Linked DNA regions of Homo sapiens: all the other regions are linked to region 4. The links are contacts of gene promoters, found by promoter capture Hi-C in human tissues and cell types (Jung and others, 2019). All regions are on one chromosome and are shown on one strand. The core of a region is centred on a gene start or on the middle of the fragment in contact, and the rest is flanking DNA. Distances in the headings are between cores, read along the strand shown. Region 1 overlaps JOSD1 (Josephin domain containing 1). Region 2 overlaps GTPBP1 (GTP binding protein 1). Region 3 holds the start of APOBEC3B-AS1 (APOBEC3B antisense RNA 1). Region 4 holds the start of NPTXR (neuronal pentraxin receptor). Region 5 holds the start of APOBEC3C (apolipoprotein B mRNA editing enzyme catalytic subunit 3C).

Region 1 (2,956 bases), core at 242-2,741, 150 kb before region 4:
CCCGCTCCACTTTCTCCTCTGTCTCTTAAATAAAACAAGGGTTTGTGACCACTGGCCTTAAGTGCACAGAACTCCTACCTTCCTTGCCCAGGAACAAAACACTGAGTAGTTCTTATAACAGTCCACACGTCTGTCCTATTGCACTGTCAGATCTGAAGGGGAAAAACTTGATGAGATGTTTGGGGAAGTGGCAAGGGCAGACCCACTGTAGAGGCCACAGCACGTCACAGAGGACTGAAGGGGCTGAGGCGAGAGGGAGGTTGGGCAGAACTGTTACACATCGGTCCTCCAACTCTGATGAGCCTCTACCTCTTCTGGTACCACCAGCAGGAGTTCACAGTTCTTTCCTCGCAAATGATGTTTTAGAAACTTCCTATGGAAAAAGAGATAGAGAAAATGAAATGCTGGCAAGTTGCAAATTCCAGTCTCAGGACCACAAAGTCACCTGAAACCTCACTCTACCCTCGGCAGTCCAAAACACATCCCTGTAGTCATCTGGTTTTGGAGGGTTCCACATTTGGTTACCCTCCAATCTGTCCAGTTAAAATTCCAACCTGAATTTTGCTCATCCTTGTAGTTACTGCCAAGAGTAGCTGGATCTGTGAATAACAGTACCCAAAGTATATAAAGGACTTTTTCTTGGTTTGTTTGGAGACGGAGTTTCGCTCTTGTCGCCTGGGCTGGAGTGCAATGGCATGATCTCGGCTCACTGCAACCTCTGCCTCCCAGGTTCAAGTGATTCTCCTGCCTCAGCCTCCTGACCAGCTGGGATTACAGGCGTCCGCCACCACGCCTGGCTAATTTTTGTATTTTTAGTAGAGACAGAGTTTCACCGTGTTGGTCAGGCTGGTCTCGAACTCCTGACCTCAGGTGATCCACCCGCCTTGGCCTCCCAAAGTGCTGAGATTACAGGCGTGAGCAATCGCCTCTAAAGAACTTTTACAAATGTTCTTTGGTCCTGGGGAAATTCAGTGCTCCCTGGCCTGCATGTTTGTCTTCCTTTCTATGAACTGGCAACTACACTGTCTCAGTTGTCTTAAATAGAGAGAACGTTACAATGCCAGCCCCACCAGACTAGAAGGCTGGTATCCCAGGCTGGGCATCTTCCCTACCAAAAGGACTTAAAAGTACTGATGCGCCATTGAAGATTAAGGTCAGGTCCGAGACACTATGATTCTAAGGCAGGGAGAGAATCCAAGGGCACAGGAATTTCATTTCCTTTGTCAAATAACCAGAGATGAGCTCAGTGTCCCCAACCTAAGAAATGAAGCAGCCTAGCAACTTAGTCACAAAAGGTGCCGATTACCTGAGCTCGCTCTCGCCTCCAATCCACTCGGGCATCTTGAGTTTGGAGTCGAGGTTGTAGTAGGCCCCTCCCACCTCTCGAACACAGATCCAGTGCTGCCTTTTGAGGGGCAGTTTCAGTGGACCCCAGCATAGGCTGGAGGGCAGATTCATGATGAAGCCCATGACGTTAGTGAGGGCAATGACACCGACATCCCTGCAGGGGAGAAATGGTGGCAGGCTCTGATGCAGCCCATTTTCCAAGGTTCCCTGGCTGTAATACCACAACTGGCTACCTCCCCACTCATGCCATGAGCCCAAGTACTAAAAGCTTATACCACAACCGTGCTGTTCTCCATCAAGTCAAGCCTGATTCAGATTACCTGCGCTTGTCCCACCAAACAGCTTCATAGCCTTTGGTCTGAAGTGCTGCCATAATGACATTCACATCGTAGTTGCCATTTCCCAGCATGCTCTTCTTGTGAGGTGTCACCATGGTGTTTGGAGACAACCTACCAATGTGAAAAGAGGAGGGCTGAGACTTGCTGGATGCCTGAACCCCCTGACCCCGCACTACCAGGGATGGAGAGCACTTTACATCACTGCCCCTGGAAGTTAGTTTCCCCACATTCAAGTGCAATTTCCCCAGCTTCTACCTAAGTATTTTGTAAGTGTTCCATGAAGGTGACTCACTTATGAAATCCCAGCCTCCTGCAGCCTTTCTGCTCTTCCTCCTGATACTGATTTTCCTGCCTCATGCAAGCCTTTTTTTTTTTTAACATTGGAAAATAGGATTCAATCTTTTCATTTGCATGGATAGTAACTGGTGTCACTCCTGCTTTCTAGTTAAGGCCTGCAAACTTGGTAATCATTAATCATTAAATACTCAAAGGCATACAGGAGCCTAGACAGGTGACATAAATGTATAAACTGGGGTTGGATATAAGGCAATAAAAAGTAGTGAGGCCTACTGGAATGCACGACCCACCTAAAGGCATTCTGTGTGTGTGTGTGTGTGTGTGTGTGTGTGTGTGTAGTACTTGAATAAATTTTTCTTAAAATACCCAATAAATCAACTGAAAAAAAATTTGTGCCAGGCAAACAAAACTCAGCTGCAGCACTGGTTTGCCCACCCAGCTTGAAGCCATTTACTTCCAGGTTTCTTTAGCCAGTCTGTATTTTAAGACAAGGTCCATGCTGAAGGCATTTCTAATTCTATTATTTTACCTTCATAAACTTGTCAGGCCAGGAGCTGGGGAAAGGCCATTTTGAAGGAAGGGTTCAAGGGGCATACCTTTGGGCTTCGTGTGAAGGGGAGAAAGGGAAGTGTGGCGAGTTCCTCAGGACATAAAGTGCATGATCAAGAGGCTACTACATGCCATCTCCAGAAAAGAATCAAGACGTTAGGCCAAGGATGTCAACTCTAAAAAACTTAAGAAATCTTGTATTTTTAAAATTTTTCTGTGCACAGCAGAAATACTGGTATTTTTTTTCTTTCTTTTTTTTTTGAGTCGGAGTCTTGCTCTGTCGCCCAGGCTGGAGTGTGATGGCGCGATCTCAGCCCACTGCAACCTCCGTCTCCTGCGTTCAAGTGATTCTCTTGCCTTAGCCTCCCAAGTAGCTGGGATTACAGGCACCCGCCACCACGCCCACCTAATTTTTGTATTTTTAG
Region 2 (2,764 bases), core at 166-2,665, 140 kb before region 4:
TGCCTGATGCATACTAGAGACTCAGTAAATGTTTGAAGTGAACGAGATAGTTCCTAATTTCCTGTGCAGATTAAATAGCAGTGGGTGAAAGATAGAACACCAATACCACCACTTACATTTGTAGGATAGTTACGATAGACATTTTATCCAGCTTTGAAAATGTTTGTGACTTTTTATAGTTTATGGCGGCAAATTTGCATGAAACTTGGTCCTAAACTGGGGAGGAACTTTCCCTGCAACCTAAGCAAGTTATTTTCAACTGCTCTTTGCCATTGTAGTCTCAGGTGAGCACTTGGAAGCCAGCTAGCCTGTCAAAGTTGGTCCTGTCTTGTGCCTGTAAGGCCATAATGAGGATGGCCAAACTTAGAGAGAGGGATGGCCAGGACGATGTAAAAGACCCAGGAAACATCCAGGTTACAATTACAAGCTCTGATGAGTCAACTCAGGAAGTTACAAGATTATGGACCTGACTCAAGAGCAAACAAACTGGATGTCAACACATGGTCAAGGTGCTGAAGAAACATGATAGGAAATTGCAGGGCAGAGTTGCAAAGACGGTAGTACCTTCATTTCTTGACCAGCTCATTTAATATTCCTAGAAGTGTTATTTCATCACATAGCTGGGGAAGTCCTCCTTACAATTAAAAAAAATCATATGTATATTAATATCGATGATATCAAAAAGAAAAAGTGATGGTGTGGAGGGAGAGAAGGGTTGGGTTGAATAGATTGATTCCGGAGGAACAGATTAGAAGCGAAAGGTTCATGTCCTTACGATAGAAAATGTGGAGACCTAAGGCTCCGAGAGCTTCCAAAGGGAGAAACACTTAGTGAATAGTGGTGGCTAGTTTCATCCAACAAGGTTTTTCTGGGAATGATTGGGTGAAGAAAACCTTGTAGTTTCACATTTATTGAGCTGTGGACTAGATGCTTTACATGTTATTATATTTGCTCTTTACAGTGGCCTTAGGATGCAGGTAGTATTAGCTCCGTTTTATAGATTGAAAAACTGAAACTCAGAGTGGTTAAATTCTTTGTCCAAGGTCACACAGGAGTGGTTAGAGAATGGGGTCTGATTGCCAAATGGCTTACCCAAGTAAATGGTTGACACTTCAATGTTATTGGCAGACATTTGCAAAATGACGGTGCTAATACTCCTCGTAGTGGTAATGGTGATGGTGCTTTGTTGATGAAGATGAGTCTTGCAGGCAGTTTTCATTCCCAAATATTCAATATAGCTAAGACAAGATAGAACAGAATTCTTTTGTTATCCTGGAAGCCACTGGCCTGTGGGTGGAGGGCATGGAGGTATATGAGGTATATGTCTTGTGGGCTTCCAGATGCCAACTGCAGGTAGAAGACTTTGGCATGTAGATGGAAAGCACTGCGCTTTCTATCCACAGTGCCATATTCTCAGTCACTTGGGTCCTGCCCTTCCTGTTAAGCAGCAGGAGGCAGGCTGCTTGTGCCCTCTTTACCATGGGTTATGGCTCAGACATACACATTGTAGTATATTATTTGGCTCATATAAGGCCTGAGGCTCAAAGGCTACTTCAGGAGAAGCAGAGAGGGCATGAAGGGGCTGTGCAGCCTTTTTAGATGAGGGTGCTATGGGGTTCAGTCAGGATCTTTGGTTAGGCTATATTGATCAGCTTTGGCTGTGGTGCTCTTCTAGCAAGTGTGGTCCTAAGGCTGTTGGTTTCTTTTCTAGCTGGTTCTAGTGAGCCCTACATCAGAGCAGTATGACAGCCTACTTCGGCAGATGTGGGAGAGGATGGACGAGGGATGCGGAGAGACCATATATGTCATTGGGCAGGGATCAGGTGAGCATAGTTTTCCTTTCACTTTATTTTTAAAAATTATTGGGCCGGGTGCGGTGGCCCTGCCGCCTGTAATCCCAGCACTTTGGGAGGCCAAGACGGGTGGATCACCTGAGGTCAGGAGTTCGAGACCAGCCTGGCCAACATGGTGAAACCCCATCTCTACTAAAAATACAAAAAATTAGCCGGGCGCTAATTAGTGGTGGCAGGCGCCTGTAATCCCAGCTACTTGGGAGGCTGAGGCAGAAGAATTGCTTGAACCTGGGAGGCGGAGGTTGCAGTGAGCCAAGATCGTGCCATTGTGCTCCAGCCTAGGCGACAAGAGTGAAACTCTGTCTCAAAAAAAAAAAGAAATTATTTAGAGCACATTTTCCCCGCTTTTTGAACTTTTCTGCTTATGTGTCTCAGTTACAGTGATTCTTTAGTGTCTGCAGAACTGTTTGGAGTACATAAAAGTACAAAGTGAATGTTAATTCTGACCTTAGTGGCCATAATATGCTTGACTTTCCAAGCAGTTTTACAGATGCTTCCTTTTTACCTCCAGTACTCTCTATTTGCATAAGAGGAAATGAAGCACAAAGCAAAGGAACTTCTTGTCTAAGGTAATAGGGCAAGCCATAGTTAGGTCTAGAATTAAGCTTATTCCTGGGCAGCTGGAGGTCTTCCCTTCCAGGCCCTGTTTACAGATCCCATTGCGACTTATTTTCTGCTTAGCAGAGGACCTCCGTGATTCTTCTTGGTGTCAGCAGAGAAAAGATGCCCAGAATTCCTCTCTTGTCAGGCTCCTTGCCCCAGACCCTACTGACTATTTAGTCTGGATAGCTGGGATAACAGAGGTCGTCCTCTCTCCCCACTGGATCCTGTCAGACACATAGGCTTGTAACCATTCTGAAAGGGACTGGTTATTGTTCTCCAAGCTGCTTATTCCTTGTAACAGAACCTAC
Region 3 (2,739 bases), core at 101-2,600, 150 kb after region 4:
TGTTTGTTTTTGTTTTTTGAGAGAGTCTCACTCTGTCACCCCCGCTGGAGTGCAATGGCACCATCTCAGCTCACTGCAACCTCTGCCTCCCGAGTTCGAGCGATTCTCCTGCCTCAGCCTCCTGAGTAGCTGGGATTACAGGTACGAACCACCATGCCCGGCTAATTTTTGTATTTTAGTAGATGGGGTTTCACCGTGTTGGCCAGGCAGGTCTCGAACTCCTGGCCTCAGGTGATCTGCCCGCCTCAGCCTCCCAAAGTGCTGGGATTACAAGTGTGAGCCACCGCGCCTGACCTGGACTTCAACTTTAACTATGAAAACCTACAGCTGGCCAAAGGGCGAGGGGAGACTTGCCTATCCTACCATGTAGAGTGATCAGATGGTGACACCCTGTCCTGCTGGACACCAGTGTCCTTCACAACCAGGTGTTAGCTGGGGATGGACACAGGAATCCCAGATTGGTAGGGAAAGGGGAGCCCCCCACAAGACCAGCTTTCTTCCTCCCATCAGGCTCAGACCAAACACATTGCACAACGCAGTTGCATGGAAGCCACAAAGATGGAAACCCAGGGCCTGGGGCCCTCTGGGAGGGACCTACACACGATCATAGCCCCCCCGACAATGCCTCGTGTGCCCAACACCAGCCCACCAGGTAGCTAGAGCCATTCCCTCTGGTCACTGGAGCAGAGCAGCCACCACAGCCTCCTGCAACACACCCTCCCATGCTGCGCCCACCCGCCTGGGCTCTCCCACCTCCCTTTGACCTACCTTGTTCCTGGGCACAGCCCCCTGTCCTGGCTGCAGATCTCAGGGTAACAGACCTCCACACAGCTGCTGATGCAGAAGTCCAGGCTGCAGTGCCCACAAGTGGATAGAGGAGGGGGTACGTGGGATGGAGGGGCTCACTATGGGTCCTCGTTGATTTCCCTACACTGTGATCTCCTGGAGGGAGGACCATGTGCCATCCATCCTTGCATCCCAGGTTCCTGCCTGAGCCGTGGCCCTGAGTGGGTGCTCTTGGGTTACTGTTGAAGGAATGAAGGAACTAGTATATGAATGAACCAGTTGTCCTTCCTTGCCTCCCCCCTTCCCTCCCTCCCTCCCTCCCTTCCTTCCCTCCCTTCATTGACCCTTCCTTCCCTCCCTCTCTCCCTCCCTCCTTCCCTTCCTTCCTTTCTTCCTTCCTTCCCTCCCTCCCTTCATTGACCCTTCCTTCCTTCCCTCCCTCCCTTCATTGACTCTTCCTTCCTTCCCTCCCTCTCTCCCTCCCACCTTCCCTCCCTCCCTCCCTCCTTCCTTCCTTCCCTCCCTATCTCCCTCCCTCCCTCCCTTCCTTCCTTCACCCTTCCCTCCTTCCCTCCCTATCAGGGGACCTGGTCCGATAATCATGTAGGTTCTTTTCTATTTTCTTAAGTGTCGGCTGGCTTGAGAAATAAAGGGACAGAGTACAAAAGAGAGAAATTTTAAAGCTGGGCTTCCGGGGGAGACATCACATGTTGGTAGGATCCGTGATGCCTCACAAGCCGCAAAAACCAGCAAGTTTTTATTAGGGATTTTCAAAAGGGGAGGGAGTGTGTGAATAGGTGTGGGTCACAGACATCAAGTACTTAACAGGGTAATAGAATATCACAAGGCAAGTGGAGGCAGGGCGAGATCACAGGACCTCAGGACTGAGGCAAAATTAAAATTGCTAATGAAGTTTCGGGCACCATTGTCATTGATAACATCTTATCAGGAGACAGGGTTTTAAGAGCAACCCGTCTGACCAAAATTTAGTAGGCGGGAATTTCCTCTTCCTAATAAGCCTGGGAGCGCTATGGGAGACTGGAGTCTATCTCACCTCTGTAATCTCGACCATAAGAGACAGGTACGCCCTGGGGGGGCCAGTTCAGAGACCTACCCCTAGGTGCGCATTCTCTTTCTCAGGGATGTTCCTTGCTGAGAAAAAGAATTCAGCGATATTTCTCCCATTTGCTTTTGAAAGAAGAGAAATATGGCTCTGTTCTGCCCGGCTCACCGGTGGTCAGAGTTTAAGGTTATCTCTCTTATTCCCTGAACAATTGCTGTTATCCTGTTCTTTTTTCAGGGTGCCCACATTTCATATTGCTCAAACACACATGCTGTACAATTTGTGCAGTTAATGCAATTATTACAGGGTCCTGAGGCGAAATACATCCTCCTCGGCTGACAGGATTAAGAGATTAAAGTAAAGACAGGCATAGGAAATCACAAGGGTATTGATTGGGGAAGTGATAAGTGTCCATGAAATCTTTACAATTTATGTTTAGAGATTGCAGTAAAGACAGGCATAAGAAATTACAAAAGTATTAATTTGGGGAACTAATAAATGTCCATAAAATCTTCACAATCCACGTTCTTCTGTCATGGCTTCAGCTGGTCCCTCCATTTGGGGTCCCTGACTTCCCACAACACCTCCCTCCCTTCCTTGACCCTTCCTTCCCTCCTTCCCTCCCTCCCTCCCTTCCTTTCTTCCTCCCTTCTTCCCTCCCTCCCTGCCTCCTTCCCTCCCTCCCTCCCTCCCTCCCTCCCTCCCTCTCAGGAGAGAGCAGCACACTGGAATGGCTGAGCTTGAGGACCCCCCATCTGGCTTGCACAGTCACCCAAACCACCACCCCTCCCCTTCCCTCCTCTTCTGCCTTGAGGAATCTGACTGTCTGGAAACTTGTTTCTCCTTCTCCATGAACATTCTAAAGCCACTGGCCATGCACTGGTGCTACC
Region 4 (2,946 bases), core at 187-2,686:
CAGCCCCCACCCAAGAGCTGTGGGCTTCCAGGTGTGTGAGGCTGGGCGCCTGGCACCTGAGCTCCTGCGGTTTGGGTCATAGTCTGAGCCAGAGTGGGAGATTCAGGGTAGGGAGGTGGTGAGGGGCACCCAGGTTTGTCTTATAGGGCACTCTGTTCCCGGCTCTGTGTAATGAGGGGAGGACCCCAAGTCCTTTGGACAGCGCATCCATCTCCTGGCCATAAAGTGTGAGCGTGGAGCTGGGCTGATTTGGGGGTGTCCGGAAGAAGGAAATGAAAGGGACATTTAATGAGGTCCTAGTACGTGCCAAGCATTTTCACACACCTACATTTGATTCAATTTCCACTACAAGTGGACACTGTTATACCTATTTTACAGACACAGAAACTGAGGCTCAGAGAGGTGCCTGGAGACGGAAAAGGGTGGGGAGCGAATCTTTCTGGCGCGCCCTCTGTGCCTCAGTCACCGTGCCAGACGCCTGCCCGCGTTCCCTATCGAAATCCCCCCGCCTCGCCAGCGAGGAAGGCGCGATCGTCCCCGGAACACAGACGGGAGACCGGAGGCTCGGGGACCGCCGGACGACCGCGGCCGGGCGGCCCCTCACACCACCCGGGCGGCTCCCCCGACGGCGCGCGGCGCTCACCTCCAGGCGGTCGATGCGGTCCCGCAGGGCGCGCACGGCGTCCTCCAGCTCCAGAATGAGCGCAGGCGAGTCCCAGGGCCCGTCGGCCATGGTGTCGCGGCGGGGCCCGGCGCCCTGGAGGCCGCGCGGCAGGCCGCTCTCGCAGCGGCCCAGCTTGCCGGTGAGCTCACGGATGGTGTCCTGGTCGGCGCGGATGCGCGCCTCCTGCTGCAGCGCCGTCTGGCGCAGCTGCTCGGCCGTGCTCTGCAGCAGCAGCAGCTCTTCGCGCTCGCCCGGCGCAGCGCCCGCCGCGTCCCCCTGCTGGGCCCCCGACGGGCAGGCAGCAGCCAGCGGCGTGCACAGGAAGCGGCTGAACAGGGGCCCGGGCGGCAGCGGGTGCGCGCTGGCCGCGGGTGCCCCGGGCAGCGCGGGGGGCCCGGCTGAACCGCCCGCGCCGTGCAGCGCGCTCAGGCTCCGCTGCGGGCCCGGGGACGCGGCGGCGCCCGAGGCGACCGAAGCATTGTCGGCGCCGCCGGGCAGCGCCCGCGCCGGGCTGGCCGCCAGGGGCACGCTGGCGATGATGCAGATGACGGCACCGAGGAACGCCAGCATGCCCGCGGCCAGCAGCACGGCCAGGAACTTCAGCGTGAGGCGGGCGGCGGGGGCGCCCGAGGCCCCCGGCAGGCGCGGCGGCGGGGTCGGGGCGCGGAGCCCGGGCGCGCTGGGCCGAGCGGGGCAGGCGCGGGAGCCGGAGCCGGAGCCGGAGCCGGAGCCGGAGCTGGAGCTGTCGCCGCGGCCGCTGCTGCCGCCGCTCTGAGCCCGGGCGGCGGGAGGAGGAGAAGACGGCAGGCGGCGGGGAGGGGGAGCGGGCGCGGCGGCCCCGCCCCACTCGCTTCCCCGGGCCGGCCCTGGCCCCGGCCCAGCCCCGCACCCGTTCAGTGCCGGGCGCCCGGCTGGGGGCGCCGCCGGGGATGCGGCGAGGAGCGAGGGCAGCGCCTGGGACCTTATCTCGCCGCGGTCACAGCGCAGGGGCCGGCGACCCGAGGGCCGCGCGGCGGGGCTCCTGGGTGACCCCCATCCCAGCCCTCCCGTGCTCGGGCCCCCTCCCCAAGCCGGTTATGTTCACATCCACCCGGGAGGGAGCTTTCTTCCGGGTGGGGCTGTGCACTGGGCGCGCCACAAGCTCGGTCGCAATTGAGCCTTGCCGTGGACAGGCTCACAATAGAAATGAGGAAACTGAGACACCTGAGGTCAGGCCTCTGTCCAAGGTCACCGGGTGGCTGCGTTGGAGCCGCCTGCGAGCTTAGGCACGTTTCACCGGACCAGACTGTGGATGGGGCTGGAGTGGGAGCGGTTAGAGGTGGAGAAGAGGCCAGTGTTGGGGGTTGGGGGGAGGCTCGGATTTTGACCTAACTTCTGTTTATACTGTGGCCACCTGCCCGTCACCCCCACCTCCAACCTTCTGAAGGAGCAGAGTTCACTCCCCGCCACCCTCATTACAGAATCTTCCTGTGATCTCAGAGGATGATGGAAATTCTCTCCTCTGAATCCTTGGGGGCTTAGAGCCTCACAGGTCCAGAGAAACCCCCCACCCCCACTGCAGTCTGCCTTCGTTGGCAAGCGGTGCCACGTGCCTGGTGGGCATGTGGACCAGGCCCAGAAGGAACAGCAGGAATGGGAGTGGGCTGTGCTGTGGGGGTGGCAGAGGAGCGTTTTACTTTCTTCTGTCAAAAATGTCTATATATATTTTGTTGAAAATTAACTTTGCAATTAAAAACTTAAAAACAATCCTACTATCCTCCACACTTTATCCCCAGCTCCAATTTTCCATGAGGTCTTTCCTGACCAATACGGATTCCCAGGGCTGGAAGGGCCTTGGGAGGGCTGTGGTTATTCCCAGCTCTGTCTCCCTTCCAAGCCTGCATTTTTGACTTGAAGGGAAAGCGCAAACCAGGATCTCTGGACCACCACGGCTACCACTGTGGTTTCGAGTGTACTTCACATAGCGCTGGTGGTGGGGAGAGACCGGAATGTTTCCCAGGAAGCCACAACCCTGGGGGACGCTCTCCAGCCACGGGGATTTTGTCCAGTGTTCCCAGGCACACGTGCTCCACCTCCCTCTCTCCACACATGTTAGGATGATGTCCACCCTGTTCACCCATCTCTAGGAGCCAGGGATTTTCATCCATACCTGAGTTGTGAAAGAGGAGAGAAGCAAACACAAGCGCTGTATGCCAGGAACCTGAGTGCTGTGTGTGCGTGGATGTGTGCTGGTGCTCACTGAAGTCGTAACCTCAAAACCCAGGGCAGGCAGCTGGGCTTGG
Region 5 (2,700 bases), core at 68-2,567, 170 kb after region 4:
GCAGGGTAAGGAGGGTGAGTCGTCCAAGTGATTGATAAGGTCGAGCAAGTCACGTGATCATAGGACAGGGGGCCCTTCCCTTATAGGTAGCCGAAGCAGAGAGGGAAGGCAGTATACGTCAGCGTTTTCTTCTATGCACCTATCAGAAAGATCAAAGACTTTAAGACTTTCACTATTTCTTCTACCGCTATCTTCTGAGAACTTCAAAGAGGGACCAGGAGTACAGGAGGAAAGTGGACAAGGAGCGTGACCATTGAAGCACAGCATCACAGGGAGGGGTTTAGGCCTCCGGATGGCTGCAGGCAGGCCTGGATACTATCCAGCCTCCCACAAGAAGCTGGTGGAGCTGAGCGTTCCCTGACTCCTCCAAGAAAAGGGAGACTCCCTTTCGTGGTCCGCTAAGTAACGATGCCTTCCTAGGCACTGGCGTTACCGCCTGACCAAGGAGCCCTCCAGTAGCCCTTATGCGGGTGTGACAGAGGGCTCACCTCTTGCATTCTCGGTCACTTCTCACAACAGCCCTTCAGCACCTGACCCTATACCCACCGGTTATTTCTTGGTTATATTAGTAATACAATAAAGAGTAATATTAAAAGCTAATGATTAATAATATCTACACTAATGATTGATAATGTCCATGATCATCTCTGTATCTAATTTGTATTATAACTATTCTTATTGTAAGTATATTCTTTATTATACTGAAACAGTTTGTGCCTTCAGTCTCTTGCCTCAGCACCTAGGTAATCCTCCGCCCACATCTCTGAGGGGCTGAACTGCCCCCCACCTTCTGGAAGCTGGGAGGTTGGAAGAGGGGATGCGTGCGATGGACTCAGCACACAGCTGGGAACTCGAGGCACACCTAAGCCTTCGCTTGTGCTGTGCGGAGTCCACACTTCCTTCCCCACTGGGGTCTCAAAACCTCCCCTCACTCAACAGGGTGGTGCTGCTCAAAGCTCTGGGCACACATTAGGGCTGGGGAGGGGGTGGTGGAGAGGGGGCTCCAGCCTGCCCAACCACCAGGCAACGGGGCACCTGCCCCTCTCTCAGCTGGGTCTGGACCCGCGTCCCAGGCTCAGGCTGCAATGCCTTTCTCTTTCTCTTTCTCTTCTTTTTGCAGTTCCGTTGGGTCCTGCCCAGGACAGATAAAGACAGAGCAGCCTGTCTTTATCGGAGGTTCCTCTGCCAGTAGGAGGGGCCCGGAGAAAACCAGAAAGAGGGCCAGAGCCAGAGAAACATGAAGCACCCCGGGGCCTCCCACACCAGTGCCTGAGCAGGAATGGGGAGGGGCCATGATTCACAAGGCCCTGGGAGGTCACTTTAAAGAGGGCTGCTCAACTGCAAGGACGCTGTAAGCAGGAAGAGAAGCCACAGCGCTTCAGAAAAGAGTGGGACAGGGACAAGCATATCTAAGAGGCTGAACATGAATCCACAGATCAGGTACCTCTGCACGCTTTGTCCGCCAGGCCCCTCCTGCCACTTCCTGCCAGGCGGTCCTGCTGGGCCTCAGCCCTGGCCTCCCCCTGCCCCAGCCCCACCTCTGGGCTCCCTCCCCCCTGGTTCCCCCGCTGCCCCCACTCCCAGCCAAGCTCCTTGCCCTGCTGTGTGGTCCCACGACTGCTGCTTCTGAATGGGCCACCTTCCCCACTTGCCCCAGCCCAGTCCGCCTGCTGAGACTCTCCCCCGAAAATCATGCCCGGGCTGGTGCTTCCCGCCCTGGGAGGGTGCTTCCTCTGTGTGCTTCCCACTATTCCTGGGAGCTCTGGAACTGGGAGAATTGAACCAAAGGATGATTTGAGCAATCAGGCATTTTGTTCTCAGCGCTTTGGTGCAATTTCTGTAAGATTTACTTTGTTTCAATACAAAGTCTTAGGAGAGGGTGTGGGGGAGGGAATGGTCTCTGTACCAGAAAATAAGTCACTTCTTCCAAAGATGCCTCCACTGTGAGCAGAGTAGGATGCACACGACCCCAGACACAGGCTCCTCCTCTGTGAGCACCGTTCACCTTTCAGAATGACACCTGCAACATGGAGTGTAGGAAAAAATATGATGATCAGGAGAAATGCTCTTATTTTAGGCCAGGCACGGTGGCTTATGCCTGTAATCCTAGCACTTTGGGAGGCTGAGGCGGGCGGGTCACTTGTGGTCAGGAGTTTGAGACCAGCCTGACTAACATGGTGAAACCTCGTCTCTACTGAAAATACAGAAAATTAGCCAGGGGTGCTGGCGGGCGTCTGTAATCCCAGCTACTTGGGAGGCTGAGGCAGGAGAATCCCTTGAACCCGAGGGGTGGAGGTTGCAGTGAGCTGAGATTGCAAACTCCAGCCTGGGGGACAGAGCGAGATGCCGTCTTTAAAAAAAAAAAAAAAAAAGTAGCAGAAAAACTGGGAGGTTGAGGGTGTTCCATTGGTAGCCCCAGAGCTGGGGTTCCAGCTAGGAGAGGTCACCCCGGCCCTGCTGCCCCTGCCAGCGTCCCCTCCTCTTTCTCTCTCCCCGTCTTCCTGCCTGGGAAAGCAGCAGACATTCTCAGGGCTGTGGAGGGATGGGGGAGGCCCAGAGCCCAGGGACGTCCAGGCAGCTGTGTTCAGTGGGCATCAGCCCTGAGGACTCCGGTGCGGGGGTCTCTGCATTGGGGTTTCTCTCTTGTGCCTTCAGAAACCCGATGAAGGCAATGTATCCAGGCACATTCTACTTCCAATT

What was found. The method cuts DNA at HindIII sites, captures the fragments that hold promoters and counts their contacts. A contact is called where the count stands out against the background at its distance.
Region 1: a fragment that was not itself captured here is called in contact with the fragment with the promoter of NPTXR in region 4 in 3 of the 25 tissues and cell types used here (aorta, dorsolateral prefrontal cortex and spleen).
Region 2: a fragment that was not itself captured here is called in contact with the fragment with the promoter of NPTXR in region 4 in 2 of the 25 tissues and cell types used here (dorsolateral prefrontal cortex and spleen).
Region 3: a contact is called between a fragment that was not itself captured here and the fragment with the promoter of NPTXR in region 4, in 3 of the 25 tissues and cell types used here (aorta, lymphoblastoid cells and spleen).
Region 5: the fragment with the promoter of APOBEC3C here is called in contact with the fragment with the promoter of NPTXR in region 4 in 2 of the 25 tissues and cell types used here (adrenal gland and spleen).

The regions. Positions count from the first base shown.
Region 1 is chr22:38,687,629-38,690,584 of GRCh38, forward strand. JOSD1 (Josephin domain containing 1) reads right to left here. Exons shown (of 5, transcript NM_001360236.2): 3 at 1,668-1,796; 4 at 1,307-1,501; 5 at 1-373. The coding sequence ends at 274. Among named protein-coding and RNA genes, the nearest start is that of TOMM22, 7.2 kb to the left of the region's middle. The HindIII fragment of the contact is 8,429 bases long and covers 1-2,956 here.
Region 2 is chr22:38,707,134-38,709,897 of GRCh38, forward strand. It overlaps GTPBP1 (GTP binding protein 1), which reads left to right. Exons shown (of 12, transcript NM_004286.5): 2 at 1,712-1,823. Among named protein-coding and RNA genes, the nearest start is that of GTPBP1, 2.6 kb to the left of the region's middle. The HindIII fragment of the contact is 3,166 bases long and covers 1-2,764 here.
Region 3 is chr22:38,996,713-38,999,451 of GRCh38, forward strand. APOBEC3B-AS1 (APOBEC3B antisense RNA 1) reads right to left here and starts at 1,508. Exons shown (of 5, transcript NR_104187.1): 1 at 1,374-1,508; 2 at 769-1,025. RefSeq lists an enhancer at 1,373-2,013. The HindIII fragment of the contact is 5,994 bases long and covers 1-2,739 here.
Region 4 is chr22:38,842,592-38,845,537 of GRCh38, forward strand. It overlaps NPTXR (neuronal pentraxin receptor), which reads right to left and starts at 1,437. Exons shown (of 5, transcript NM_014293.4): 1 at 644-1,437. The coding sequence starts at 1,267. RefSeq lists a silencer at 956-1,025. The HindIII fragment of the contact is 15,093 bases long and covers 1-2,946 here.
Region 5 is chr22:39,012,940-39,015,639 of GRCh38, forward strand. It overlaps APOBEC3C (apolipoprotein B mRNA editing enzyme catalytic subunit 3C), which reads left to right and starts at 1,318. Exons shown (of 4, transcript NM_014508.3): 1 at 1,318-1,440; 2 at 2,656-2,700. The coding sequence starts at 1,424. RefSeq lists enhancers at 530-1,148, 1,125-1,419, 1,149-1,766, 1,339-1,448 and a silencer at 1,559-1,608. The HindIII fragment of the contact is 14,453 bases long and covers 1-2,700 here.